Linked DNA regions of Homo sapiens: all the other regions are linked to region 1. The links are contacts of gene promoters, found by promoter capture Hi-C in human tissues and cell types (Jung and others, 2019). All regions are on one chromosome and are shown on one strand. The core of a region is centred on a gene start or on the middle of the fragment in contact, and the rest is flanking DNA. Distances in the headings are between cores, read along the strand shown.

Evidence for each region. Contacts are between HindIII fragments. The study calls those that stand out against the background at their distance.
Region 2: a fragment that was not itself captured here is called in contact with the fragment with the promoter of RGCC in region 1 in 1 of the 25 tissues and cell types used here (mesendoderm cells).
Region 3: a contact is called between a fragment that was not itself captured here and the fragment with the promoter of RGCC in region 1, in 2 of the 25 tissues and cell types used here (lymphoblastoid cells and spleen).
Region 4: a contact is called between a fragment that was not itself captured here and the fragment with the promoter of RGCC in region 1, in 2 of the 25 tissues and cell types used here (IMR-90 fibroblasts and lymphoblastoid cells).
Region 5: a fragment that was not itself captured here is called in contact with the fragment with the promoter of RGCC in region 1 in 1 of the 25 tissues and cell types used here (mesenchymal stem cells).
Region 6: a fragment that was not itself captured here is called in contact with the fragment with the promoter of RGCC in region 1 in 1 of the 25 tissues and cell types used here (dorsolateral prefrontal cortex).
Region 7: a contact is called between the fragment with the promoter of KBTBD7 here and the fragment with the promoter of RGCC in region 1, in 1 of the 25 tissues and cell types used here (adrenal gland).

What each region holds. Positions count from the first base shown.
Region 1 is chr13:41,455,605-41,459,923 of GRCh38, reverse strand. It overlaps RGCC (regulator of cell cycle), which reads right to left and starts at 2,374. Exons shown (of 5, transcript NM_014059.3): 1 at 2,168-2,374; 2 at 1,454-1,639. The coding sequence starts at 2,216. RefSeq lists enhancers at 1,332-1,461, 1,511-2,188 and a silencer at 1,762-2,601. The HindIII fragment of the contact is 31,337 bases long and covers 1-4,319 here.
Region 2 is chr13:41,951,172-41,955,490 of GRCh38, reverse strand. The region is part of intron 1 of VWA8 (von Willebrand factor A domain containing 8); the gene reads left to right. Among named protein-coding and RNA genes, the nearest start is that of VWA8, 7.8 kb to the left of the region's middle. The HindIII fragment of the contact is 3,084 bases long and covers 1,056-4,139 here.
Region 3 is chr13:41,867,414-41,871,732 of GRCh38, reverse strand. VWA8 (von Willebrand factor A domain containing 8) reads left to right here. Exons shown (of 45, transcript NM_015058.2): 10 at 3,256-3,387. Among named protein-coding and RNA genes, the nearest start is that of VWA8, 92 kb to the left of the region's middle. The HindIII fragment of the contact is 5,241 bases long and covers 1-4,319 here.
Region 4 is chr13:41,851,000-41,855,318 of GRCh38, reverse strand. All of the region lies in intron 12 of VWA8 (von Willebrand factor A domain containing 8), which reads left to right. Among named protein-coding and RNA genes, the nearest start is that of VWA8, 110 kb to the left of the region's middle. The HindIII fragment of the contact is 3,996 bases long and covers 1-3,751 here.
Region 5 is chr13:41,791,308-41,795,626 of GRCh38, reverse strand. The region is part of intron 17 of VWA8 (von Willebrand factor A domain containing 8); the gene reads left to right. Among named protein-coding and RNA genes, the nearest start is that of VWA8, 170 kb to the left of the region's middle. The HindIII fragment of the contact is 5,753 bases long and covers 1-4,319 here.
Region 6 is chr13:41,773,308-41,777,626 of GRCh38, reverse strand. All of the region lies in intron 20 of VWA8 (von Willebrand factor A domain containing 8), which reads left to right. Among named protein-coding and RNA genes, the nearest start is that of VWA8, 190 kb to the left of the region's middle. The HindIII fragment of the contact is 8,096 bases long and covers 1-4,319 here.
Region 7 is chr13:41,192,393-41,196,711 of GRCh38, reverse strand. It overlaps KBTBD7 (kelch repeat and BTB domain containing 7), which reads left to right and starts at 2,143. Exons shown (of 1, transcript NM_032138.7): 1 at 2,143-4,319. The coding sequence starts at 2,455. All of the region lies in intron 3 of KBTBD6-DT (KBTBD6 divergent transcript), which reads right to left. RefSeq lists enhancers at 1,973-2,062, 2,373-2,642, 1,987-2,693, 2,694-3,401. The HindIII fragment of the contact is 7,226 bases long and covers 1-4,319 here.

The DNA.
Region 1 (4,319 bases), core at 1,125-3,624:
GTGAGGCTGTTGCTTAGAAAGGAGCTGTTCTTTGCCACAGAGCAGCAGCGACACACTATCCTAGCTTTCTTTTCCATGCGAGAATCTGTATTTGATGAATAACTTGCTCCATGCCCCAGTAGGAGGAGACATATTTAAGTTTGGCCTTTAGAATTGAGACAAATTTCAAAAATGTTAACACTTTGCTTTGAAATTGAAAATGAACCTATTCATTAAGAACAAAGTCCAAAAATTCTAAGTGGAAAAGTAACAGTACTTTCTTCCATCCCCTTTCACCTCAAAAGCTGCAGCTTGGTCTAACTCTTTGGCAGTGCTGCCAAGGAAACAAGCTGGAACTCAGCTTCCTGAGTCAAACCCTGACCAGGGTGGTGAGCGCATTTATCCCTTTGCAGAAGGGCAGCTCATGTTCATGTCTAGCCCCGAATCTTAGCCCAGGAACAAGGAAGAGCTCCAGGTTTCAAAATAAGAGAATCACACGGAAAGGCCATTACTTTCACGTCCTGAGTCAAGGGCAGCAAAAGGAGTGACATTCATGCCTGTAACCCATCTAAGGATTAAAGGCTGAAGAATAACACAGAAGAGTTTAAAATTGACTTTGCCCTTTGAAAAACAATAAGCAATTCTGGATTTGAAACCAACAATCATGTAATATTAAAAAGGCACCTAATTTGCTGTTTGAGGTACCTGTAATCCTCCCAGGACATGTGAGTTCCTGGAAAAAGCTGTCTCTTTTGTTGTTTTTGTTGTTGTTGCTGTTGTTGACAAAGTTGTTCAGGACAAAGAGACCCTGGGGTAGTCTCCATTGTGAGAAAGATCACCAGGAACCACCTTCATGCCCATGTGCTCTCTGGCTCCCCCTCCAGCCTGGTGGAGGACCTGGCTGAAAAATACTTGAACTCAGCAGTGCCAAAGATTTTCATAACTGCATGCAATGGAGCAACAAGTCTGAGAGCTAAGGGCCAGAAGACAATGCAAGCAGTTATTTCATAAATCCCAAGAACAGCAGTTTGGGCTTATGAAACCTTTCCTGGTTTCATGAATATTTCCGTTCTGCGCCCTCCCATGTCCCCACTGTGCCCCCTCATTCCACTGGCACTTGTTCCACATCTGCAAAGTTACAGCTGAGAGGGGAGAGGCACGGAAAGGAGAAGAGGAGGGAAACTGCGGAAAGGCCTGGTGCAGGTCCAGGGAGTCCTGTCTGGCTGAGTCGGGACAAGCTGCTTAAACTCGCCTGCCTGGTGACACACCCGTGGGCGGCAAGTGAACCAACCTGCCCTCCAGCGACCTTTCCCGTGATTATCGTCAGGGGCCCCGCCACCACTCGGCCTACTGCGTTGAGCTTCAGGAAACCATTCCTCAGTTTACTGATAAGAAAACTGAGGCCGCAGCCTTCGCGGGGCAGGTCCTGGGAGCTGGGAGATCCCGGCGCCATCCTAGCGGGGGCCGCACTTACTCTCCGAGTCGCTGAAGCCGCTGCTGTCGCTGACACTGGCGCTGCTGCGCCGCTTCATGCGCTCCAGGTGCTCCTCGTAGTGGAAGTGGCGCTCGTGGAAGGGCGACGCGAAGTCGGCCAGCACCGCGTCAAACTCGCACAGCGCGTCCGACAGGTCCTCCGCGGCCGCCGAGTCCAGGGCCGGGGCTGCGGGCAGGGCCAGGGGCTCAGTGCACGGAAGTCAGGGGGGCAGCGGGACCACCTCCCAGGGCCAGGAGGGGCCGCCACGGTTCCCGAAGATAACTGACACTTGGCGCCTCTGCCAAGTGACAGCCACGCAGTCGCTGTTACCTTGTAATCTTCTCCACCACCCCCGAAGTGCGTTCTATTACCAAGTCCGTTTTACAGACAAGAAAACTGAGCCTTCGCCAGGCCCAGGGTCACCCAGCGACTTGGCGCGGCCAGATTCCTCCCCAGGCGCTGCCGGTTACCTGTCCCCGCCGCTCCCCCCAACCCCGGGCGCGCGCGGAGCTGGTGGTGGAGGGAAGGTGGGACATGGGGGCCAGCCCGGGCCGGAAAGGAGGCTGCAGCCGCCCGCGCGGGAAGACCGGGGACAGGTTCCCGCCGGGGAGGATGGAAGGGTGGGGGGTGTGAAGGGACGACACGGGGCCCCTCCTTTCTCACCCGCCATCTGCAGAGCCGAGACTTTAAGGGGACCCCGGACCCCGCACTCACCTGCGGCCGCGGCGGCCGCGGGGCTGCCCTGCGCCGCGGGCGGCTTCATGAGGCGGCTCAGCTGGGCCCGGCGCGCGTGGCCTTGGGTCCTGCGAGGTGGCAGCCGGGGCTATTCGGGGGCTTGCTGTCCCGCACACTTCAGCCCTGCCAGTCCCTTCGGCGCTGCGCTCCAGCCGCGCCGCTCCCAGCACGGTCCGCGCCCGCCCTACCACCGGCTCGGGTTCCTAGATCTTATAGCCTTCGGCGGCCGGAGCGGAGGCGGGGCCGGGGCGGGGCTGCGGAGCCGGGGCGACGGGTCTGTCCCCGCCGCCCTCCGAGGAGGCCCCTGCCCCCAGGCACCGCCCTCGCCACGCGCCCGCCCTGGAACCGCGGTGACGAGGAGTCGCCGAAGCCCCGGTTACAGCCCCAAATATTTACCCGCCTCTCGCCCCCGCGCCCTGACAACCCGGCCCACGCGGTGTCCTCGGCGTCACCAGAGCTGACTGCTGGGCGCGAGCTCTGCTGCTTCCCGCCGCGTGCCAGGCACCTCCGCGAGCCGCAGCTTCCTCGGCTGTGAAGTGGACGTGGGCATGCAGAGCCTCCCTGGCTGGCGGTGAGGGACGAAGGAGCCCGCGGCCGTGTCCCAGTCGGGTGTCGGGGACGCGGAGGTCCCCTACGCATTGTCCCAAGGGGACTTCCGAGATGGTGGGCGGGCGGAGTGGAGAGGGTCGGGGCGAGAGGGGCAGGAGTTGGGGGAGTCCTGAACTGTTCCCACCGCGGAGCGCGGGGGCCTGAACTACGGTCCAGGGCGCTCCCGCCAGCCTGACTTTATCTAGAAGGGGTTTATTATGGGAAGAAACTACTGCGTCGACGCAGCGCGAACAGGGCGCCTTGCAGTGTCCACGGAGTAACGAGCCACCCTGCCCCGCGGCCTGCGGGGGCGAACGCCCTGGACTGTGCGCTGAGCTAGGCGCTAGCCTCTCGCCTCTCACCACAGACGGCTAATTAAATGTAGAGCAATTAACATGTAACGGAGTGAAACATTCAGCCTCCACTCCCAGCTAGTTTTTGTATTTTTAGCAGAGACGGGGTTTGTCCATGTTGGCCAGGCTGGTCTCGAACTCCCGACCTCAGGTGATCTGCCCACCTCAGCCTCCCAAAGTGCTGGGATTACAGGCGTGAGCCACCGCACCCAGCCAGGATTTGTTTTCAGAATATAGAAAGACCCATCTACAAAGTAATCACAAATAGACAACCTGGTAAAAATTAAAAATGAGCAAAACATTGAAACATACACCTCACAAAGGAGTATATGTTAATGACCACTAATCATATGAATAGTCCTCCTCTCTTGTCTACTCTGGGTGGCCTAGGGATATGCTTGTCTTGTGGAGGCACAAGCACTGTGGGCTCAAGAGTGGGGAGCCTCTTTCCCTGTTAAGGGGAGGACACCACTGGGATCTCTGGTGCCATCTCCTGCAATGGATCCTCTGATGTGGGGTCGAACAGAACTTCAGGAGTTGATTTCCCTGGGTGAGTGGAGCGGGATCCTTCCTTAGCTATCTGTCCCTTTGCTACTAGTATTGCTGCTGCATGCCCTCAGCCACTGTGGGGGTTCTAGCACCAGCTGTCACCAAGTGTCTATGTATGGGAACTGGTCTAGGTATCTTTACCAGTTACCTTGTGCCACGCCTTAGAAACAAGGGACCTGTCCAGGCTTCCTTCTGATGGCCAACCCACTTCTAATGGTGCGCAATCTATTTCCCACAAGGTTCTAAGTTCCCCTGGTGGTCTAGTGCTTAGGATTCGGTGCTCTCACCGCTGCTGCCTGCGTTCGATTCCCGGTCAGGGAACAAAGAAATGGAGCATGGATGAGCAGCGGACAAAACCCCTCAGACAGCGGATTAAAGAAGGAAGAGTTTTTTTTATTCCGCTGGGAGCTTCGGCAGACTCGCGTCTTAAGAGCCGAGCTCCCGGAAGGAAGACAGAGTTCCTGGCCCGTTTAAGGGCTTACAGCTTTAAGGGGTTCCACGTGAAAGGGTCTTGATGGATTGAGAGCACATGTACTTAGAGTCACGGGGGTTGATTGTTTCACCTCAGGCCGGCTCCTCATTGCCACCGGCTGGTCTTGACACTGACTTCATTCCTGTTGTTTTCCAACTTTTACTTCCTC
Region 2 (4,319 bases), core at 1,348-3,847, 500 kb before region 1:
GCTCAATGAATGGCTGCATACAAACATTTAAGACTTGAGAGGATATGGTGCACCAGAAGGGCTATCATGAAGAATCTCAGGATAATAATAAAGACTGTAGTGTACTTCTTAACAGGAGCCCCTGTGAACTGAACCAATCAGAAATCCAGCAAGGTTCAGGCACTTTAGACACTTCAATAGTATTTGAGTCTAGTTCAAGTAAACCCACAGTTTACATGAAGAAAGGCATACATTTGCTTCTTTTGCCTAAATTATGTTACCTGTTGTCTTATAAGTATTCTTATTCCCCTTTAGAGAGTAAACTACCTCACTTAAATCATTATAGATGGCTTGACTTATAAGCACATTAGTAGGTGGGATGTTTTCAAAGGAGAAAACATTACAGCTTAAAAACAATACTTAAGAAAAAATTTAAAATTATAATTATTCATTTGTCAAACATTTATTGAATATCTGGTAGGTTTCAGGTATTGGGGATAAAATGATGATTAAAACTTAGGCCTTGCACCAAGAAAAAAAGAGTCCTGTAGACTAAACAGTAGTCTTCAAAAATTTTTCTTATTTATCTGCTAGGAGGATTTTAAAAATATGTATCCCTTTGAACATTTTTAGGTTAATAGCTAAAGTTTTCCTGGTAAGTTTAAATAGTTGCAAACGATGACATTTCCAGTATGTTGTAAATATTGGCATTTAAAAGAAAAAATATTACAAATTCTGAGTGTATCTTTTAAGTGGAAACAGAATATTCTAGTAATTTAGTACAAATTCTGAGTGTATCTTTTAAGTGGAAATAGAATATCCTATCTCTATTTTGGAAGTAGATAAAAAGCTCTTCTTTAATTGTTAGAAAATGTCTCTTATCTCCTTGAATTTGTATTTCCATTACAGAAGCATAAATCAGATCCTGTGCTAGCAGAAAGACTAATGGAGTGATCAATTTGTGCTAGAGGAAAAGTTAGGGAAGGTTCAATGGGGAGATGAAGATATTTCAGTAGTAGTTGTGTAGAGGGCAAGTGGTGTGAGAGAGATGTGGAAGGTCTTCTAGGCTGAGGAGATAAAGTGTTAGTCACTGAGATAGGAATACAAGAGGTGGAGCTGGTTAGAGGTGGTTAGGCGCACACAATGGACAATATAGAATTCTGTTTCTGTGTGTTTGTTGAGTTGTCTCTGGAATATCTAGGTAAAGTCTCCAGTAGGCTACTGGCAGGTATGAAACTCAGGAGAGAGATCTGAGCCAAAATAGACATTTAAAGAATTAGTTGTATATGGTGTTTGAAGAGTACCCTTAACTGAAAAAAAAAAAAAGGTTGTATAGAGGTCAGAGTTGGGACATTGGTATGGATTAAATGACTGAGGAAAGTGTAGTGTAGTAACAGAAGATGGCCAAGAACATCAATGTTTGAGGCAGAGATGGCAGATGCCTGGTCCATATGAATGTCATAACTTTTCCCTTTTGTCTATTGCAGATGTGGCTCATTGATCACCACCCTGTTTCCCAATGAGTCCAATTTCCGTTGTGATTTATTTTTTGGATTTTTTAAGAAGCCTGTTGCTTGATTTCCAAATGTTTGGGGATTTTCCAGTTACCTTTTTGTTACTGATTTCCAGTTTAATTCCACTGTGGTAAGAAAACATAATCTTTATGACTTCCATCCTTTAATTTTCTTTTTTAATTTTTTTTGACACAGAGTTTCACTCTTGTTGCCCAGGCTGGAGTGCAATGGCGCTATCTCGGCTCACTGCAACCTCCGCCTCCCTGGTTCAAGCAATTCTCCTGCTTCAGTCTCCCAAGTAGCTAGGATTACAGGCATGTGCCAGCCACCACGCTCAGCTAATTTTGTATTTTTAGTAGAGATGGGGTTTCACTATGTTGGTCTGGCTGGTCTCAAACTCCTGGCCTCAGGTGATCCACCCACCTCGGCCTCCCAAAGTGCTGGGATTATAGGCACCAGCCATTGTGCCTGGTCTCATCTTTAAATTCCTTGAGACTTGCTTTATGGTCCAGCCTATAATTTATTTTGGTGAATGTTCCATGTGCATTTAAAAAGGATATGCATTCTGATCATGAGGAACCAATTACAATACTAAAAAGTGCTTTATAAAATACAATATTCAGTTGATAGGTTGAGAAAATAAAAACATACTTGCAGTAATACTTAAATAAATAATAAATAGAATATGCATTCTGTTGTTGGGTGTAGTGTTCCATAAATGTCATTTAGGCCAAGTGATTAATAATGTTTTCCAATCTTCTCTTTCTTTACGTCTATACTTGGTCTTTGCCAGAAGGCTGAGAAAAAATTATCCTTATCCTGTATCCTTCTTTATTTTTTCCTACTTCTTCCATTATTTACCAAGAGAGCTACTTAAAGCTATTAATATCTAGATGTGATTGTGCATTTTTCTATTTCCACTTTTAGTTCTGTCCGTTTTTGCTTCATGTTTATTTCCCAGCTCCCTCCCTGCCAGGTCACCATTATGGGTTTGCTGTGTTACCCAGAAGGAGGCTTCCTAACACAGTGACCCTCTCTGCTTGCTCTCTCCCCTTGCCCCTTCAGGCCTAGGGGCGGTAATGACTTTCTGTTATTGCTAGTCCTAGGATACTGCACCATCTTTTTTGGTTTCCGTAAACTCTGCTATACCTTTGTAAATAGTTCCCTTTTTGTACTCTCCTCAGTTACTCAGTTTGAATGTACTGTCTTTCAGAAATGTGAGGTATGAATTTTACTTTTTTTAAAAAAAAAATGGACAGCCAATTGTCAAGTTACCATGAATTTGTATAGTCTGCCCTTTTTCTAGATTATTTATTAGAAGGATGATGTCGGTCAGCTCTAACACTCAGGGAATGTTTGTAATGAGAACCTGTGCCTGAAAACGTTTTTCTTATGTTCAGATTAATTACTCAGTATCATTTTGTCAGGAGGCCAAATAATTACAGTCTTTTCAGGAAGTGAAATAACATTTGTAAAGACATCCTATTTGAAAATACTGTAACTATAATTCTTGAAACTACTCTGTAATAAAAGCCAGTAGATAATATCACTTATATTTGTAAGCAAGCTTATCTTTTAAAAGAAAAGCTACTGTAGAAAGTAGCTAATTTATAGGTTCTTTCCTGCATTAAGGAAAATAGGGCGAGATGACCAGTCAACCAATACCTGGCAGTAACTAAGATTGTACTATATGAGGCACTGCTGACCACCTGTTTTTTGAGGGTGTTAGAACTTAAACGACCAAATGATCTCAAACATGCATTAGAGATCATCTGGAGGGCTCATTGTAACACCGATTGCTGGACCTTAGGGTTTCTAATTCAGTAGGTCTGAGGTGGGGCCTGAAGATTTATATGACTTACAAGTTCCCAGGTGACGTTGATGCTTTGAGAATCTCTGTGATAGATTGCGTGAAGACAAAGAGTTAATTGGACAGGGGAGGAAAAGGGAGCGGTGCACGGGTTATGGAGGAGCTTTGCAGGCTTTTGAATTTTGGTCCTCATCATCTTTTGCCTTGCTTTTTTCTGGCTGCCAGTTTTGGACCTAGCAGGGATTTAGCTTTGTGTGTAGTCCTTATCTTCCTCTCTCAATTTACCACATACCTGTAATAAATTTCTTTATCTGTTAAAAACTCTGTTATGGATTTACAAATTTTCTCATTTGTAAAATTTCTGTCTCATAGGATTATTTTGAGAATGCAAAAAATACTTAGAAGGTAGTAAGCATTCAACAAATGTTGGCTATTGTTATTAGTACCATGATTTAAGGCCTTAGTGTTCAAGGTATCTTGCTAGCTTTAAACTGGCAGTGCTGAAAGATGAGTTTTGCACGACTACTTTTTTGGAGTGTCTCTGAGCCCTTTCCAAATGAAATTCTAGATGCAAATGGTATCACCATGCCTATTTTGCTGTTAGAGAGAGCACAGCGGGGAGAGATTATTCAGTTTAGTCCTCGGCTTTAGAAGATCACTCGGAAATTAAGGTTACATTAAAAAATAGAACTGTATAGAACTTACTGAAAACTTTTGCCTGCTTTTGCTTATTTCATGTAGGAATTCTTGGCTTTTATTTTTTATTTATTTGAGACGGAGTGTCGCACCGTTGCCCAGGCTGGAGTGCAGTGGCGTAATCTTGGCTTGCTGCAACCTCCGCCTCCTGGCTTTAAGCGATTCTCCTGCCTCAGCCTCCCAAGTAGCTGGGATTACAGGTACGTACCACCACGCCCAGCTAATTTTTGTATTTTTAGTAGAGACGGGGTTTTACCATGTTGGTCAGGCTGGTCTCTAACTCCTGACCTCAAGTGATCCGCCTGCCTTGGCCTCCCAAA
Region 3 (4,319 bases), core at 596-3,095, 410 kb before region 1:
ACTTGGAACCAACCCAAATGTCCAACAACGATAGACTGGATTAAGAAAATGTGGCACATATACACCATGGAATACTATGCAGCCATAAAAAATGATGAGTTCATGTCCTTTGTAGGGACATGGATGAAATTGGAAATCATCATTCTCAGTAAACTATTGCAAGAACAAAAAACCAAACACCGCATATTCTCACTCATAGGTGGGAATGGAACAATGAGAACACATGGACACAGGAAGGGGAACATCACACTCTGGGGACTGTTGTGGGGTGGAGGGAGTGGGGAGGGATAGCATTGGGAGATATACCTAATGCTAGATGACGAGTTAGTGGGTGCAGCACACCAGCATGGCACATGTATACATATGTAACTAACCTGCACATTGTGCACATGTACCCTAAAACTTAAAGTATAATAATAAATTTAAAAAAATAAAAAAGAAAATGTTAATACTGTTTAATTGAAATTCAAGAATTCATAGGAAATACTCAGAAAGTGGTAAGTTAACAAACTCTTATTTTCTACTTCTTGCTAGGAAGTAACCTGAAATAATTATATGTCTATTGTTCTTCTGACCAGCTGTGATGTTGATAAGAAGTAGTTGCATTTGGGTTATAGTTTGAAGGTAGAATCATTATGATTTGCTGAAGGGTTGGATGCAGGGTTGAGACAGAGGTAAGGGTGATTTCAAGCTTTTGGACTGAGAAACTTAAATGATGGAGTTGGAGATAGAGAATATGGGGGTACCTTTCTGATTAATACCTTTCTGAGTAACAATCCTCTAAATTTTCCATGCCAGAAAATGATAATTCACCTTGCAATTTGAGGTTTTTACTATCTTAGTGTATTCTGGCCTACTATTTTTATTTTACTAAAATATTTTAGCTTTAATTATTTGTGTGGACATAACCAGTGTAGCAAGTGGCTCAGGACATAGTGTTTATTTCTGGAATATGTGTCCTCTGACGTCACTCCTGTATCAAGTTAGATTGACACTACTCTAGCTGTGGGAAAACATACATTTAAGCTCATTTATTTGTTTTCCTAGAATTTAATGAATCTTCGTTCTAAATTTTTTTTCTTTTTTTTTTTTTTTTTGAGACGGAGTCTTGCTCTGTCACCAAGCAGAGTGCAGTGTCACGTCTTGGCTCACTGCAACCTCCTCTTCCTGGGTTCAAGCGATTCTCCTGACCCAGCCTCCCGAGTAGCTGGGATTACAGGCACATGCCACCACGCCCAGCTAATTTTTGTATTTTTAGTAGAGACGGGGTTTCACCATGTTGGCCAGGCTGGTCTTGAACTCCTGACCTCAAGTGATCCACCCATCTCTGCCTCCCAAAGTGCTGGGATTATAGGCATTAGCCTTTGCGCCCAGCCATTTGTTCTACATTCTAATGAATTTAATTACTTGGGTAGGTCTTGCTCCTTTCCTGTTGAGTTCTCCTTAAAATACAGTGGAACTTTTTTTTTTTCATGAAATTAAGGTGTCAATAGTTGTTATTTGTCTACAACATGGAAGCAATTCTTGTCAAATTATGTGATACTGTGGGGATTTGCATATATAAATTGTATGAAATATAGAACTTTTTAATGGCAGTATAAATTCACAGGTTTTTTTTTAGGTTTGGGGAAAGGAGTTAGTGATTGTCTTGAGTACTTATGACATCAAAATGAAGACTTGAACTGGGATGTTAAGTTTAGAATGTTGAGGTTAAACATGATTTTCTTCCTCCCAAATCTATTTTCTGGAGTTCTTTCATTCTGCTGAATACATGATGATCTGTTCTTTCATTGAGTTTCAACTCTTTCACTATAGTAATAATGTTCCAAAACTAGTGTAGGATTTTGGGGGTTAATTTCTGCCTATTTAATAGTAAAAATAAATTCAGTTTTTTATATTGAGCATGCTGTTATAAATAAGGCATAGAACTTAATTTTCAATTTATTTTCATCTTTCACATACTTACCTGTATTCTTTCTGTGTAGTTTTGATATAGCTAGCTGGAATGAAGTGGTGTAGTCAATGTTAGAACGTTGATAATTGGGCCACATCAAGAATCAATGGTTCTAGCCTTTTTTTTTTTTTTTTTTTTTTTTTTTTTGAGACAAAGTTTTCGCTCTGTTGCCCAGGCTGGAGTGCAGTGGCACAATCTCAGTTCACTGCAACCTCTGTCTCTGGGTTCAAGGGATTCTCGTGCCTCAGCCTCCCAAGTAGCTGGGACTACAGGTGCGTGCCACCATGCCCAGCTAATTTTTGTATTTTTAGTAGACAGGGTTTCACCATGTTGGCCAGGCTCGTGTCGAACTCCTGACCTCAGGTGATCCGCTTGCCTTGGCGTCCCAAAGTGCTGGGATTACAGGCATGAGCTACTGTGCCTGGTGGTTCTAGCCTTTTAAATCCAGTTCAACAAATATTGAGACCCCTATAGTGTAGAAAGCACTGTACCATATGCTGTGGAAAATTGTTATAATAATTTTAGTTAAGCTATTCACATAGCTGACAGCAGAATGATGGCCAAGAAGTTCTGTTTTCATGAATTTCAGGTAACACATTAACTTCGATTGATTTAAAGAATAAACCAATATGGGCCTATTTCAGCATATTTTGAAGGGTCTCATCATCTCCTTCTAGGAAGTTGATTGTCAAGAAATGTAAACTATGAACTTCTACCAGGTCAGGAATTCAGTGATTCCATTTCTTGTCATTTAGTAAATTTTAGGGACTATTTTAATATGATCTTTAATAATTATTGTAAGTAGAATGGTATTAGTAGGAATAGAAAAAAATTTTCGTTAACTTTTTTTAACCTCTACTTTTTTTTTTTCCTTTTTTTTTTTTTTTTTTTGAGACGGAGTCTTGCCGTTTTGCCCATGCTGGAGTGCAGTGGCGCGATCTCGGCTCACTGCAAGCTCCACCTCCCGGGTTCACGCCATTCTCTTGCCTCAGCCTCCCGAGTAGCTGGTACTACAGGTGCCCGCCACCACGCCCAGCTAATTTTTTTTCTATTTTTTAGTAGAGACGGGGTTTCACCGTGTTAGCCAGGATGGTCTCGATCTCCTGACCCTCTGATCCGCCCGCCTTGGCCTCCCAAAGTTCTGGGATTAACAGGCCTGAGCCACCGCCCTTGGCCTAACCTCTACTTTTATATAATAATATAAAATGGATTTCACTTGTAATTAAGGTGTAATCTGTCAGATAGCCAATGTTAATGCTAAAATGAAAAGTAAATTGCATGATTTTCTTGTAATTTTACAGCGCTTTGAACTTCAAGATTCAGGAAGCTCTCTACTTCCTAAAGAGATTGTAAAAGTAGAGAAGATGATGGAAAACCATGTGTCCCAAGCTTCTGTGACCATCCGGATTGCAGATAAAGAGGTGACCATTAAGGTAATTAATCACAGGTTTATTCTTTCTATGATATACCTTATTCTGCCTGTTTTTATGACCTAAATTGGGTTTATGATCTCCTTGTAAGTCTTCTCTCTTGATAGTACTGCTTCTGTCGGTATCTATATGTCTATGTCTCCAGAGTCATGTGTGCTTATAAACTGGAAAAGTTCAGGAGAAACATAGGGAAAGCCTTTCATCAAAAATTCAAAGTTGACCTGTGGGAAAATCAAGTCACAGGCTGATTACTGACAGCATTTTGTGCTATGAGTCCTTGGTAAGAAATAGTGTTTTCAAACATTTGAGCTGCTACAGAGACCTATTTTCAAGTAAAATCTTTCTTAGCTATGTGAAACGGTTTAAAAAGGATCTGCTCTGGTTGAATTGTTTTTAGAGAGGGAAATAATATTTGGTCATAGAGCTCCATCTGCATGTATATATGTTATATATATATCAGCTCCTTCTATATATATCTATATGTGTATATATACACACATTTTATGGAGTCTTACTATATTGCCCAGGCTTGTTTTGAATTCCTGAGCTCAAACAATACTCCTGCCTTAGCCTCCTGAGTAGCTGGGACTACAGGCACATGCCACTGTGCCCAGCTCATGATAAACTTTTTTGTTTTAATATTTGATATTATTAATATTAATTCATGTTACTGTACTTATTCATTGAACTGAATATTGATTATATCCACCATGAGCTAGGTTCCATATTATGAGTTTACTGTGTACTATTTACTGTATTTGTCTCTGCATATATTACACGATTTAAATCCCGCAAGATCCATTAAGGTAAGTTTTATTATCTCCATTTTGTAGATTAGAAAACTGAGATGTAAAGAGGTTAATGATTCACCCAGAGACAGCAGCTAGGAGATGGCACAGCTGGGATTTCTAGACAGGGACAGTTCCCCACTATAC
Region 4 (4,319 bases), core at 504-3,003, 400 kb before region 1:
TAAATATATATATATTTAAACCCGTGGTGGGCCATTGGGTGGGTACCTTGCTGCCGCCAACAGCCAAGCCATGGGCTACAGTAGCTTTATTTCTGGTGCTCAGCCCTTCTCAATGAATTTGTCAACACTAGCTTTCTAAGCTTTCCACTCATTTCCAGCTTGGGATCTGCCCAATCCATCCTTACAATACTGATTTTTGTTCTTTCTAATTTTCCCCCTATTTCACATTTTTTAATCACGACTCACAGTTTGCAAGATAATATTGAAATTATGCTGTTTAGCACACAGTGCTCTTTTTTATCTGGCCCCTGTAAGACCTCAACTGTGCAACTAACATTTACCTTATAACTCCAGCCTTAAGGGATGACTTGCAGTTTCCCCAACATGACTTGCTGCCTACCACTCCATGCTTTCTTGCACTCTTCATGCTGCCTGAACCACCCCTCAGAGCCTGTAGGCCAATTTGCTAACCTTTAAAACTTAGCTCCACTGCCTGCTCTGAATTTCTGTAAATCTTGAATTTAATTTATATGTACTCCCTCTTTGTTTCAGCATCACTTAATGGCCTTTTTCATGGCACTTATCATTCTGTACTGTAATAACTACTGTATTTCATTAGCTCCAAGAGGCACTCAATTGTAAGATGCACCACTAAGAAAGAAAAAGTACTTCAAATTAAATTACGATATAAGACTTTATCACTTAGAATTTTCATATTTGTCTTAAAGAACTCTTCCAGACTTAATTTAGATTATATTCCTCCTGTGCATGCAGAAAAAGGAAAATATGAATATAATAAATAGGAAAATATATATAAAATAAAAATAAATATAATAAATTTATAAATAAATATAACAATAAAAAATATTTTGAAATATTTTTAAAACTTATGCACCATCATAGTCTGACTCTTCTAAAGCACTTTATGATTCAGTTGCAGATGTTCATGTTGTTTCACGTATATTCTCTGTGTGTTCCTTTGGTTGGTCAGGAACAGAATGCTCTTCTATTGTTTCCCCAATTGTCTTCCAAGCTACTGACAGCCATTCTGCTGGTTTTGATACTGATATTTTTAAAATTTTAACCAAAGGTACTGACAGAAATGTTTTTAGGCAACAACTAGAACTCATATTCTTTTCCCAAATGGAAAAGAGTAATTTGTTGACTAAAACATGGATGGATTACAGTTGTTTCTTTAAGCCACAAGCTAACAAACATACTAACAAACAAGCAGAAACAAGTGCACATATATGTACACAATGGTAACTGACTCTTCAGCAACTGTTGTTAAGATTCTATCAATTGAAGCTGCACCCTGATTTCAGAGATATTAAAATATAAAACATGTATATCTTGGAATTGATGAAACAGCAATTTGTCTCTCCTATCGTTTGTAAGCTCCTTGAAGGCATGGACAACACGCTTTTCAACTCTGTTTCCTTCATGGACAATAGATGTCTAGTTGAAAAAATGAAATAGAATAGAAAACAGAAAAACCACAGAAAAGATCCGTGTAACTAAGAGTTGATTTTTTTGAAAAGATAAAATTTACAGACTTGTAGCTAGATGAATAAGTGAAGAGACAAGATTATAAACAAAAGAACAAACATCACAACTGATAGCACAGAAATACAAAGGCTCATGAGACTACTATACATCAACAAACTGAATAACTTAAAAGAAATTGGTAAATTCCTAGAAATATGTAACCTACCAAGACTGAATCATGAAGAAATGAAAAAATGAGAACAAATCAATAATGAGTTAGGAGATTGAATCGGTAATCAAAAACCTGCCACCAGAGAAAATCCTATTATGTGATGGCTTAACCTGTGAATTGTACCAAACATTTAAAGAAGAACTAAAACCAAACCTTTTCAAACTTTTTAAAAAAATAGAAAAAGAGGGAATACTTTCAGACTCGTTTTGTGAAACCATTATTACCCTGATACCAAAGCCAGACAAGCACACTACAAGAAAAGAAAATTACAGACCAATATCCCTGGTGACCACAGATACAAAACATAATAAAGGCCATATATGACAAGGCCACAGCTAACATTATGCTCAATGGTAAAAAGCTGAAAGCTTTTCCTCTAAGATCTGGAACAAGTCAAGGATGCCCACTGTCACCACTCTATTCAATGTACTATTGAAAGTCCTAGCTAAAGCAATTAGGCAAGAAAAAGAAATAAATGTACCCAAATCACAAAAGATGGAGTAAAACTTTTTTCTGTTTCCAAATGACATGATCTTATATATAGAAAACACTAACGATACCACCCAAAGCAATACAGATTCAATGCAATCAATCTCTACCAAAATTCCAATGACATTTTTCACAGAAATGGAAAAAAAATACTAAAATTCATATGGAACCACAGAATACCTCAAATAGCCAAAGCAATCTTGAGAAACAACATTTGAGGCACCACACTACCTGGTTTCAAAATATTCCACAAAGGAATAGTAATAAAAATAGCATGGCATTAAAAACAAACATATGGATGGATGGAACCAGAATAGAGAGCCCAGAAATAATATACTATTAATGGCTAGTTAGTTTTCAACAAAGGAGCCTAGAACACATATTGGGGAAAGGATAGTCTTTTCAATAAATAGTACTGGGAAAATTGTATATCCACATGCAGAACAATGATATTAGACCTTTATCTCATACCGTATACAAAAATCAACTAAGAATGGATTAAATACATAAATGTAAGACTGAAACTATAAAACTACTAGAAGAAAAGAAGGGGGAAAAGCTTGCAGATATTGGTCTGGGTAACAGTATTTTGGAGATGATACCAAAAGCATAGGCAGCCAAAGCAAAAATAGATAAATGAGATAAATGCAGATAAATGAGATAAATGCATCAAACTTAAAAAGCTTCTGCACAGCAAAGCCAACAATCAACAGAGAAGAGTCAGTCTACAAAATGGGAGAAAATATTTGCAAATGACAGCTGACAAAGAGTTAATTTCTAAACTGTAAAAGGAACTCAACTTAGTAGCAATAAAACAACCCAGTTTTAAAATGGGCAAAGAACCTGAATAGACATTTCTCAGGCATTTTAAAATATACTTGTTGGACATACAAATGGCCAACAGGTACATATAAAAAGTGGTCAACATCACTCATCATCAGATAAATGCAAATTAAAACCACAATTAAATATTGCTTTACACCTGTTAGAGTGGCTAATATCGAAAAGATAAAAGGTAACAAATGTTGGTAAGCATGTGGAGAAGAAATGCTTGTACGTTGTTGGTAGAAAGGTAAATTAGTACATACATTATAGAAAATAGTATGGAGGGTCCTCAAAAATTAAAAACAGAACTACCACATGATCCAGCAATCCCACTTCTGGGTGTATATACAAAGGAAATAAAGTCAGTATCTTGAAGGAATATCTGTGCTCCCATGTTTATTGTGGCATATTCATAATAGCCAAGATAGGTAATTAACATGTTTTCATTGACAAATGAATAAAGAAAATATGCAGTATATACAGAATGAATTATTATTCAGCCTTTAAAAAGCAGAAAATCCCGTCTGTATTAATCCATTTTCACACTGCTGATAAAGACACACCCGAGACTGGGAAGAAAAAGGTTTAATTGAACTTATAGTTCCACATGACTAGGGAGGTCTCAGAATCATGGTGGGAGGCAAAAGTCACTTCTTACATCACTGGAGCAAGAGAAAATGAGGAAGAAGTGAAAGTGGAAACCCCTGATAAATCCATCAGATCTTATGAGACTTATTCACTACCACGAGAACAGCACGAGAAAGACCAGGCTCCATGATTCAATTACTTCCCCCTGGGTCCCTCCCACTACATGTGGGAATTCTGGGAGATACAATTCAAGTTGAGATTTGAAGGGCACATAGCCAAACCATATCACTGTCATTTGCAATAATGTAAATAAACCTGGAGGACATTATGCTAAGTGAAATAAGCCAGCCACTGAAAAGCAAATACTACATTATCTCACTTAAATGTGAAATCTAAAAAATCAAACTCATAGAATCTGGTGGGGTCTTTCATTTGGCTTGCTGCTGGAGTCCTTAGGTGGACTGGCCTGGTGCCTGACTCTGCAGAGAATAGGGTGCTGGTTGTCAGGAACTGGGGAATGGGAAAAAGGGGAAAGTGTTAGTCAAAGGGTACAAAGTTTCAGTTAAGCAGAATGAATAAGTTCTCAAGATCTAATGTACATTATAATGATTATAGGTGATAATACCATATTGTATACTTAAAAATTGCGAAGACAGTAGACCTGAAATGTTCTTACCACAAAAAATATGTAACTATG
Region 5 (4,319 bases), core at 1,104-3,603, 340 kb before region 1:
CATTCCTTTATGGCTACATAGTATTCTATGGTGTATATGTACCACATTTTGTTTGTCCAGTTTATCATTGATGGGCATTTGGGTTGATTCCATGTCTTTGCTATTGTGAATAGTGCTGCAATGAACATAAGCATGCATATAACTTTATAACAGAATGATTTATATTCCTTTGGGCATGTACCCAATAATGGGATTGCTGGGTAAAATAGCATTTCTGCCTCTAGATCTTTGAGGAATCATCACATTGTCTTCCACAATGGTTGAACTAATTTACACTCTGACCAACAGTGTAAAAGCATTCCTATTTCTCCACAGCCTAGCCAACATATATTGTTTATTGACTTTTTACTAATTGCTATTTTTCTGGCATGAGATGGTACCTCATTGTGGTTTTGATTTGCATTTCTCTAATGATCAGTGATGTTGAGCTTTTTTTCATGTTCGTTGGCTGCCTAAATGTATTCTTTTGAAAAGTGTCTGTTCATGTCCTTTGCTCACTTTTTAATGGGGTGGGTTTTTTTCTTGTAAGTTTGTTTAAGTTTCTTGTGGATTCTGGATATTAGACTTTTGTCAGATGGATAGATTGCAAAATTTTTTTCCCATTCTGGATGTTATCTGTTCACTCCGATGATAGTTTCTTTTGCTGTGCAGAAGCTCTTTAGTTTAATTAGATCTCTTTTGTTAATTTTTTTCTTTTGATGCAATTGCTTTTGGGTTTTCCTCATGAAATCTTTGCCTGTGCCTATGTCCTGAATGGTATTGCCTAGATTCTCTTCCAGGGTTTCTATGGTTTTGGGTTTTACATTTAAGTTGTTAATCCATCTTTAGTTAATTTTTGTATAAGGCATAAGGATGGGGTCCACAGCCAATATCATACTGAATGGGCAAAATCTGGAAGCATTCCCCTTGAAAACTGGCACAAGACAAGGATGTCCTCTTTCACCACTTTTATTCAACACAGTATTGGAAGTTCTGGCCAGGGCAATCAGGCAAGAGAAAGAAATAAAGCACATCCAAATAGGAAGAGAGGAGGTCAAATTATCTTTGTTTACAGATGACATGATCCTATTTCTAGAAAATCCCATTGTCTCAGCCCAAAAGTTTCTTAAGCTGATAAGCAACTTCAGCAAAGTCTCAGGATACAAAATCAATGTGTAAAATCACTAGCATTTCTATACACCAACAACAGGCATGCAGTGAGCCAAATCATGAATGAACTCCCATTCACAATTGCTGCAAAGAGAACAAAACACCTAGGAATACAGCTAACAAGGGAATTGAAGGACCTCTTCAAGGAGAACTACAAACCACTGCTCATGGAAATTAGAGAGGACACAAACAAATGGAAAAACATTCCATACTCATGGATAAGAAGAATTAGTATGAAAATGACCATACTTCCCAAAGTAATTTATAGATTCAATGTTATTCCCATTAAACTACCATTGACTTTCTTCACAGAATTAGGAAAAACTATGTTAAAATTCATAAAAAACTAAAAAAGAGCCTGTATAGCCAAGACAATCTTAAGAAAAAAAAAAGCTGGAGACAACACACTACCTGACTTCAAACTATATTACAAGGCTACAGTAACCAAAACAACACAGTGCTAGTACAAGAACAGACACGTAGACCAATGGAACAGAATAGAGAACTCAGAAATTCTAAGATCACACATCTACAACCACCTGATCTTTGACAAACCTGACGAAAACAATGGGGAAAGGATTCCCTATTTAATAAATGCTGCTGGGAGAACTGGCTAGCCACATGCAGCAAATATTCTTTTCAATTTATTTATTTATTTTTTTTGAGATGGAGTCTTGCTCTGTCGCCAGGCTGCAGTGCAGTGGCACGATCTCGGCTCACTGCAACCTCCACCTCTCAGGTTCAAGCAAGTCTCCTGCCTCAGCCTTCTGAGTAGCTGGAGCTACAGGCGTGCACCACCAGGCCCAGCTAATTGTTTTTTGTATTTTCGGTACAGATGGGGTTTCACCATGTTGGCCAGGATGGTCTCGATCTCTTGACCTCGTGATCCACCCGCCTTGTCCTCCCAAAGTGCTGGGATTACAAGTGTGAGCCACCGTGCCCGACCTAAATTTGTATTTTTAATTGACAATTTTACTATGGGCAAAAGGATTTCAACCTATGAATCTTAGGGAGGACACATTCAATCAGTCAGAAAAAGGTAATGTTTATTTCTGAGATTTCCTCTTTTCACTTCCATCTATTAAAACATATCTTTCTTATTTATCTCAAATGTAGGTATATTATATTTAAAGGTTCATGAGCAATTTGGAATTACCTCAAGAATGTCAAGGTTTGATATTCTGTTTTTTAATTCATCTTCTTATTAGTTGAGGAAAAATTATTCTACTAAATGGAGAAAAAGTGTTTGATAAAATTCAATAGCCAGCCCTAAAAACAAACCAAAGCAAAAACAAATATAACTTAGTAAATCTGGAATATTCTTAGTAAACTACAAGCAGAAAGGAAATTCTTTAATCTCATAAAGAATATCTACCAGAAATTTACAGCAAATATTCTTAAGGCAAAATACTTGTCACATTTTCTTTAGAGTTAGGACCAAAACAAGAATATCTTTCAGCACTTTTAGCAAGTACATTTGCCCTAGGTTATATGATTAGCTACATTAAAAATACAAGAGAAAATACAAATAAATTATTTAGAACAAATAGAGTTTAGTGAGGTTATTTATACTCCCAAATCAATGACATTTCCTATACTCCAGTAACAATCAATAAGGAAATATAATTTTTAAAAATTTCATTCAAAATAATAGTAGAAAGCTTTGCACAACTAAGAATAATCTAATAAATATCATGTAATGCTTTAATGGAGAAAAGTATACATCTTTATTCAAAGTTATAAAAGAAGACAAATAAATGGAAGATTTAGTATTGTAAAACTGTTTCCCTCCAAGTTGATATTTAGATATAATTAGTCAAAATCCCACAAGATTATAGTGAATTTGACAAGCTGGTCTCAAAATTGGCATGGAAGTATAATAGGCTACTAATAGCCAAGAAATTTTGATAAGATTAATGAGGGTATACTTAACCTATTAGATATCAATATTAATTCTAAATCTGTATTCATTATAATAGTATGTGTTGGTACAGGGAAAAACAAATAGACTATTAGAATAGATACAGAGCACAGAAACAAACCTACATATTTGTGAGAACTTAGTATATAAGATGTAGCATTGTAAATCAATGTTGGCTTGTCAATACATGGTTATAAATAAAGATTTTCCAATTTATCCCACACAAAAGGTAAAATCCAGTTATATGACACTATAAACTACTTTATAAGTTATAACCCACAAACTAGGAAAGATGTTTTGGATGATTTTTGATTAAGAAAGCACTGGCATTCAGGGACTATAAAGTAACTACAAATTAATAAGGAAAAAGAATTAACTCCAAATGGGCAAAGAATGAATAGATATTTATGCAAAGTTTAAATAATTCAAATGACCAATAAACATTTGAAAACATGCTCAGCCTCATTAATAATCAGTGAAATGAAATTTAAAATAATAATCAGCTATCATTTTATACTTTAAATTTTTTACTTGTAGTAACATTTTTTATGAATGGAGAGGAATGTAATTTCATCACTGCTGTTGGGATGGAAGTTTCAACAGTTTTTTTTTGCCTAAATATATTATTACTCTATGATTTGACAATTCCACTTCTCGATATCTGCTTTAAAGATAGACTTACATGTGTATATAAGGAGGTATATACAGGAATGTTCACTGTATCATTGTAATAATGAAGAATTGGAAACAGCCCATCTGTCCATCAGTAGGAAATGAATATATAAATTGATATATTTGTATGATAAAATAATTTACAACAGTCAAAATGAAGTAAGTTGCATGCATTTACAGTTATCTATCATAACACCTTAATATTGAGTAAAAAAGTTGCAAAAGGAGATTCAGTATATGATGTGATTTGTACAAAATGTTAAATGTGATAAACAGTACAATATATTTTTTATTCATACACACTTACGTAGCAAAATATAAAAATATGGACAACAAATACACACCAGTTTCAAGGTTAGAGTTCTCTCTAGAGATGGAGAGAGATGAATAGAATGTTTAATAGTCTTCATAATTTTCTATAATCTCTTTAATTTTCTGAAATACTGAAATATTTCATAATTAAAAAAACTGAAAAACAAAAATTGGTTACTTTTCATTCTCATACATATTCACTGAATCAAATAGTTGACTAATTTTTCCAGTGTTATCAACTGACCACAAAAAATTCTTATTTTGT
Region 6 (4,319 bases), core at 493-2,992, 320 kb before region 1:
CTGTTGTCAGATTGATACTTGTAAAACTAAAATCTGATTGAGCCTCTCTTTTTTGCTGAAATTGGCTCCCCATTTCTGTTAGGTATAGTCTGAGTCTTCAGTACAGTGTACAGGATTCACTCTCTGCCCACCCCTCTATTCCTAAGCCATGGCCCCTTCTTTCTCTCACTGTGTTGGCTTGAGGCACTCTGCAGTTCCTTATCTATTCAGTTACTTATCTCTGCTCTGGTCCTCAGTACATGCTCTTCCTTCTGCAGGGAGAACTTCCTGTCCCCTTCCCATATACCCTCCCTTTAACTCATGGAAGAGAGACCTTCCCTTGTCCCTGGCTGAATAGGTTTTTCCTGCTTCTACTCCCTTTTATCTCCCTTTTGTCATACTAGTCATACCATATGACTGTCTTTGCAACTTGTCTATATGTCCCTTGAGAGCAGGGACTGTGTTTTTCTTATTTATCTCTGTTCTCAGCTCCTAGCATGGTACCTGTTACATAGTAGACACTCAATGTATGTTTATGGAGGAACGTATGAAAATTTTAGGTTTACAGGGTCCTGATAATTTTCCTCTATTGAATTTTCAGGCTCACAGTGAACAGCACTTTTGGTTTTTTAAATTGGTCTTAAATTAAGGGTAACAAAGCTTCTAAAGTTTGGTTTCTATTTTTTCTTCTTTTTTGTATTTATAAAAATAATACATATTCTTTATATATTTAGCCTCTCAAACTTATCATTTTGAAGTACTGATTTAAAAATAAAAGTAAAAATGGGCCAGTTGTGTGCTTTATTGATTTGAGTGCATAGGCTTAGAAATTAGATAACTAGAGGCTCAACAGCAACTCTTCCACATATGGTTGTGTGACTTTGGGCAAATTGCTTATCTTACTAAGGCTCAGTTTCTTGATGTCTAACCTGGGAATAAAAATAGTATGGTCCCTTTGGGCTAACGTAAGGATGTCATGAGATAATGCGTGGGAAGTGCTTCACACAGTGCTCAGTTCTGTCAGCTAAATACCTCTGTATCACTGTATAGTTTAAAAGTAATATTCTCTTGTTTCATTTTTTAAAACAAGAATTAAAACTAGAACAATAAATTATTTATGACCCTTTAATTCCCACTATTTGAAAAGTCCTACCTATTTTTCTTCACTGAACAGTAAAAGATGAACCTATATACCAGAGTGGGAAGATGAAGATCAGTTAACAGTCAGAATTTGGCTCTTGATATTGAAACCCAGGAAGTCACATTCTCATCACACTTTGAAAAACAATGGCTCTGTGGACATTCAGGTTGTATATAGCCCAAAGTACTTTGTAAATTTTTTATAAGAGTTTCACAAACTCTTTATAAGTTAAACCTTGGTGCACTCAGTGTGTCCTTTTCAGAACTTCTGCCATCACCTGAATGGCCAGAGACACAGAGGCTTTTGGCATCCCAGCAGCGGCAGACCAGCATGGAGAAGAGAATAGACCAAGACTATACAGAACTGGGGCTTGAGGAATAATTTTTCTAAGGTGCAGGTTTTTAAAAGGAAGATCCCTAGAGGTCAAGGTATGGAGTCCAAGTGGTTTTGAAATCTCTGTCATGGTATTGCTATCCTGAGGGTTTGGTGGGTTAGATGCAGTTGGTTTCTTGGCAAAGGTAGCACTTGCAATTGAGCAGGTAATAGATTAGAGTTTCAGGAGGGTCTTCTAGTTTAAAAGGTTGAAGTTAATGCCTAGCCAGTAACCAGAGAGACAGGAAGAATGTTTTAACCTCTGGAGGATTGGGGAGAGCTATTCAGAGTGAAGGGTGAAGTAGAACAGAGGTTTGCCTCTGCTTTATGATGAATGAAGCAGAGACTGTGAAAGTGTTTTGGAATTGTCCTAGGGTGCTATACAAACCTTGGCATAAAATCTAATATGCTATCTCTCTTTTGTTTCCAGTCCTAAAGAAAGGAACAAGGCATTAGAGCAAAGAGCTAGGCAGCGGGGTGGAGGGAAGGGCAGCTACAGCTCCATAGGTAGATGGTTGGACTCCAGCATCTGATAAGGATGGTCAAGCCCACTGATTTTCAAGCCTGTCTAGGACTGGTTCAGGATTCAGCTAGATAGAGCCTTCAAGTTGAAGATCCCCACGAAGAGCAAGGCAGGAGCCACGGGTTGGCACAAACTTTCATTTATCAGTTATTTTGCAAAAGCCATCTGTGGTCAGCAGATCACACTGTCTTGCCATCTTGTACTCTTATCCTGCCACTCTCCACTTTGGAGAAAGAAGAAATTACAAAGGGAGATTGTATTCAGTATAATTTGCTATGTTTAGCTGACCCTTTTCATATCAAAAGAGTTTTCTGTTCTTTGATTATAAACCTCTAAGACCATCAGTGTTATATTATAATACCAATGTTGAAGGAATGTTTTTTTGGAAGTAAATTCTGCTACCTATGTTCATTATATTATATAGTGAAAAAGTCTAACTCTCTTAGACTGTCATTTGATGTCCTCCATGATCTAATCCTGCTCTGCTTTCAGCCTGGTGTCTGGTTTCTCCCTGTAAATGCTTTTTTTCCTCAGACAAATTAAATACTCTGTTTCCCAAACATACCTTCTTATCAGTGTTATATTTCAACCTCTAATCTTTGCCAGCATGCTCTCTTCTTTCTCTTACCTTTGCCCATTCACATTCTCTTAACCTCAGAGTGGCAATGTGGCATCATGGAAAAGTAATAAGCTGGGTACCCAAAGACCTTCCTTCCTTTTCAGATTTTTTAACTCTCTGTGATAGTTGAGTAAATTGTTAGTGAGTAAATTGATATGTGTGATATCAACTGATATGTGATACTGAGTAAATAGTTATTCCTTCTAATTAGGGCCTTTTCTTTTTTCTTATCTATAAAATTATAGGCTTGGCATGGATATTTTCTAGGGTCTTTCTGGCTGTAATATTCTAGAATATGCTTCTTTAATAAAGTGCTTGTGAATGCTATGGCTTGAAGGCTTGACTGCACTCTCTGAAGTGTGATAGGTCACTTACAGATTTCTTTTGGGATTTAGTTAGATTTATGTATTTACCCACCATCTCTATGAAAAAGAGATAAAGAGTCTTCATTATTTTTGTGTCTCCCTGATGCCTTGCATACCGTAGACATTCAACAAATACTTGCTGAGTTAATTAGTAGATTTTAAAGGACTATCTGAAATAAATTCCTGGCTGGGTGCAGTGGCTCATGCCTGTAATCCCAGCACTTTGGGAGGCCAAGGTGAGTGGATCAGTTGAGGCCAGGAGTTTGAGACCAGCCTGGCCAACATGGCAAAACCCTGTCTCTACTTTAAAAAATACAAAAATTAGCCAGGTGAAGTGGCATGCGCTTGCAGTCCCATCTACTTCGGAGGCTGAGACAGGAGAATCGCTTGAACCTGGGAGACGGAGGCTGCAGTGAGCTGAGATCGTGCCACTGCACTCCAGCCTGGGAGATAGAGCGAGACTCCATATCAAAAAAATAATAATAAATAAATAAATAAATAAATTCCTAATGAGTAGCCAAAATGATTTAGAAGTAATATGAATTTAAAATTTAGGCTTAGTTGGATTGTTTTCAGGGGGCTATAAGACAAATTGAAATGTCTTTTTCTCTGAGCTTGCAGCTGTTTAAGTGAAGGAGACTAATGAATTAGATAAAATCTAGGGACTACCTACTCAAGAGAGTAAATAGTTAAGTAGCCCATTCAACTGGATATAGTTCTATAATGACAGGATCAGAGACTGGCAGCATTATCACTAAGACAGAATAATGAAATGCTAATTATTTTTAAATTTCTAATAATAAAGTGCTGATTAGTATTTAGCTAATTAAATCATACATAACTTTGCCTGTGCTTGCATTTACCAGGTCAAGGGGTGGAAATTGGACCAAGGCAGCTGGTTAAAATCTAAATAGAACTGTTTGAATCCTTTAGCCAACTTCAATTCCTTTCTAATGTGTTTTCATAAGGTAACATCTGTGCTAAGATCTGGGCAAGATTCTATGGTTAGACTCTTAGCTGCTTCTGTTTGGTGGGTACGAGGGAGTACAGAGCCACCTGTAGTATTCCTTGACTAATGCAGTACCCCACAGAACTGTGCTTTGCTAAGGACTGGCATAGAGTTTGTGTTCTCTTTCTCTGTGCTGTTCTGAGTGCTGATCATCTAGGAGAGTTATATATTTGGGAATGTATATTTTTGCAGTGATAGTAACTCAGGTCCTTCTTCAGTAGTTTTAAAAAATGCCTTGTTTCATTGGTCAATGGTATTTCATGCTTTTCTTCATATTTGATGCACCTGCTCACCTTCACCCTTATTTCCAT
Region 7 (4,319 bases), core at 894-3,393, 260 kb after region 1:
TAAATGGTAAATTTAGTGTTATGTATATTTTACCAATATTTTAAGAAGTTTTTTAAAATGGCCATTCCTGCGCTGGGCATGTGGCTCATGCCTGTAATTGCAGCAACTCAGAGGCTCAGGCAGGAAGAGTGCTTGACACCAAGATTTCCAGACCAGGCTGGCAACACAGTGAGACCCTGTCTATAATTTTTTTTTAATTAACTGGGTGTGGTGGTATGCATCTATAGCTCTAGTTACTTGGGAGGCTGAGGGCAAAGTATTGCTTGAGCACTGGAGTTTGAGGCAGCAGTGAGCTATTATGGTGCCACTGCACTCCAACCTGGGTGACAGGGCAAGACCCCATCTCAAAAAAAAAAAAAAAAAAGAAAAAAAAAAGGCTTTTTTCCCCAGCTGGTATTCACTGCAAGTCAGGAAACAATCATTGTTACTGATAATGACTGACTTGATTCTCTCTGGTGTATCTGAGGGATATCTAACATCTCTTTTTATTTACAGAGGAGTTATTAGAGCCCAGAGGCTGACTTAATTTAATGTGTCTACCCTAGAGTATTTCCAGTGGACTTCAGCTGATAAGTTGAAGTTATCTTCAGCTGATAAGAGAAAAACAATTTGAAAGTTATTCTCTTGTAATGTGTTATCCATACATGCATGTAACACTGATGATTTTCTTTATTAGGTTATGGTAACATAACAAACTAGCAGCAGGAGCAGTCATGGTTTTGTAATAAAAGTTATCTGAAAAAGTCTGTTACTGGTGGAGGGTGTCCAGGTTCTTGGCGTTTTGGACAAAAAATTGGACAAAACACATAAACAAAGCAAGGAAACAATGAAACAACAAAAGCAGAGATTTACTGAAAATGAAAGTACACTCCACAGTGGGGAGCGGGCCTGAGCATAGGGGCTCAAGGGCCCTGTTACAGAATTTCTGAAGGTTTAAATACCCTCTAGAGGATTCCACTGGTTACTTGGTGTACACCCTATGTAAATGAAGAGAATGAAGTAAAGTTACAAACTCATTTACTCAGCATACACCCTATGGAGAGGATCTTTCCTGTTATAGCTAAAGTGTGAATCAGCCTTATGTTCCCTGCCTCCAGACCCTATTTTCCTGCCTCAAATCTCTAATACTTGATTTTGATGATTTAACTGTTGATCCCAATGCAAATATAAAAGACTTTGTAAAGCATAGACTATACTATATATTAATTCAAGGAATGTCAGGGCATGTACTGATGTTGAATTCTGAGAATCATGTGCTTTTGTACAGAACAAAGTCTGTTTGTTGAAATATTTTGAGTTAAAATACTCCCTAAAACTCCTTAATAAAGGGAATTACATAATCTGTTAATTGATTTGTGGAACGGCAGTGAAAGAGGCTGTATTAGACGACTTGAAAACACTCATATTTGGAGCTTAACGAAAATACTCCTGCTCTCCAGAGATGAAATGTTAGTGAGAGCAGCAAATAATTTATTTTTATATGCTGGATTTGCGTATTTGAGACCATCTATTAATACTGTTCTTTAGGACCTCAACCTAGTCGTCTAAGACATCCTTATTAAACGAGACCAATAGATATCATTTAATATTGAAAATATTGTTAATGCCCTTCAAAATCTTTCGAAGGAATAAACATTAAAAACTAGAAATTCTTTGTAAAATTTTGCGGTTTAAAATAATACTCGGTTTCAAATTAGTGGGTGCCTCATTTATCATAAATTATAAAAGAGAATCTAACAGTTATTGGCTACATTCTAGGCACGGGGTAACGCTTTACTATTCTTCTAACCAAAAACATACATGTATCTAAGTATCCCATGTAAGGTATCATTGAACCACACAAAACCCTATGAAATACTGGCAGGGGGCGGTGGCTCACGCCTGTAATCCCAGCACATTGAGAGGCCGAGGCAGGAGGATAATTTGAGCCCTCAGGAGTTCAAGACCAGCCTGGGCAACAGTCTCTTCACCATCAAATCCAGGAGAATTAATTTCTACTGTTAGAGCAGTCAACTAAAGGACAGCTCGCGATATTACACAAACTACTACTCCCAACATGCAAAGCGGTTTCTTTCCCTCTGTCCCCGCCCGGCCGTCCGAGAGCCCCAGCAGGCCTCGGGGCGCGAAAGGCAACCTGGGAGCAGTAGTTCTCCCGGGCGCCTAGCGGGATCGCCAGCGCGGCAGTGGGGGCTTCCGCGGCTGCAAGCCAGCGGGTCCTGTGAGGGCGAGCGGAGGCGGAGAAAGGGCGCGGGAGTGAGAGAGGGTGAGTCAGCCACTGTCTATGCAATAAAGGGAGGCCTCACCGCGGGATAGGGCTGAATTCAGAAGTGCGGCCCGTGCCGCAGTCTGTTCCAGGACGCGGCTTGTCTTAGCGTCAGCGAGGGAAGGTTGAGGAGGAGCCAGAGCCTGGTCCTGCAGCCTTTCTCGCCGTCAGCGCCCGTCGCCATCTCCACCATGCAGTCCCGGGAAGACGTCCCGCGCTCTCGCCGCCTCGCCAGTCCCCGTGGTGGGAGGCGGCCCAAGAGGATTTCCAAGCCCTCGGTTTCGGCCTTTTTCACGGGTCCAGAGGAGTTAAAGGACACGGCCCATTCTGCAGCCCTGCTGGCACAGCTCAAGTCCTTCTACGACGCGCGGCTGCTGTGTGATGTGACCATCGAGGTGGTGACGCCTGGCAGCGGGCCTGGCACGGGTCGCCTCTTTTCCTGCAATCGCAACGTGCTAGCAGCTGCGTGTCCCTACTTCAAGAGCATGTTCACAGGTGGCATGTACGAGAGCCAGCAGGCCAGCGTGACCATGCACGATGTGGACGCCGAGTCCTTCGAGGTGTTGGTCGACTACTGCTACACGGGTCGTGTGTCTCTCAGTGAGGCCAATGTGCAGCGCCTGTACGCGGCCTCCGACATGCTACAGCTGGAATATGTGCGGGAAGCCTGTGCCTCCTTCTTAGCCCGACGTCTTGACCTGACCAACTGCACCGCCATCCTCAAGTTTGCAGACGCCTTCGACCATCACAAGCTTCGATCTCAGGCCCAGTCCTACATAGCTCACAACTTCAAGCAGCTCAGCCGAATGGGTTCAATTCGGGAGGAGACTCTAGCAGATCTAACCCTGGCCCAGCTGCTGGCTGTCCTACGCCTGGATAGTCTGGACATAGAGAGTGAGCGGACTGTATGCCATGTAGCTGTGCAGTGGCTGGAGGCTGCTGCCAAAGAGCGGGGTCCCAGTGCTGCAGAAGTCTTCAAGTGCGTGCGCTGGATGCACTTCACTGAAGAAGATCAGGACTACTTAGAAGGGCTGCTGACCAAGCCCATCGTGAAGAAGTACTGCCTGGACGTTATTGAAGGGGCCCTGCAGATGCGCTATGGTGACCTGTTGTACAAGTCTCTGGTGCCAGTGCCAAACAGCAGCAGCAGCAGTAGCAGCAGCAACTCTCTTGTATCTGCAGCAGAAAATCCACCCCAGAGACTGGGTATGTGTGCCAAGGAGATGGTGATCTTCTTTGGACATCCTAGAGATCCCTTTCTCTGCTATGACCCTTACTCGGGGGACATTTACACAATGCCATCCCCTTTGACCAGCTTTGCTCACACTAAGACTGTCACCTCCTCAGCTGTCTGTGTGTCCCCAGACCATGACATCTATCTAGCTGCTCAGCCCAGGAAAGACCTCTGGGTGTATAAACCAGCTCAGAATAGTTGGCAGCAACTTGCAGATCGCTTGCTGTGTCGTGAGGGCATGGATGTGGCATATCTCAATGGCTACATCTACATTTTGGGGGGACGAGACCCTATTACTGGAGTTAAGTTGAAGGAAGTGGAATGCTACAGTGTTCAGAGAAACCAGTGGGCATTGGTGGCTCCTGTCCCTCATTCCTTCTATTCCTTTGAACTCATAGTGGTTCAGAACTATCTTTATGCTGTCAACAGTAAGCGCATGCTTTGCTATGATCCTAGCCACAATATGTGGCTGAACTGTGCTTCTCTTAAACGTAGTGACTTTCAGGAAGCATGTGTCTTCAATGATGAAATCTATTGTATCTGTGACATCCCAGTCATGAAGGTCTACAACCCAGCTAGGGGAGAATGGAGGCGGATTAGTAATATTCCTTTGGATTCAGAGACCCACAACTACCAGATTGTCAATCATGACCAAAAGTTGCTTCTCATCACTTCTACAACCCCACAATGGAAAAAGAACCGAGTGACAGTGTATGAGTATGATACTAGGGAAGATCAGTGGATTAATATAGGTACCATGTTAGGCCTTTTGCAGTTTGACTCTGGCTTTATTTGCCTTTGTGCTCGTGTTTATCCTTCCTG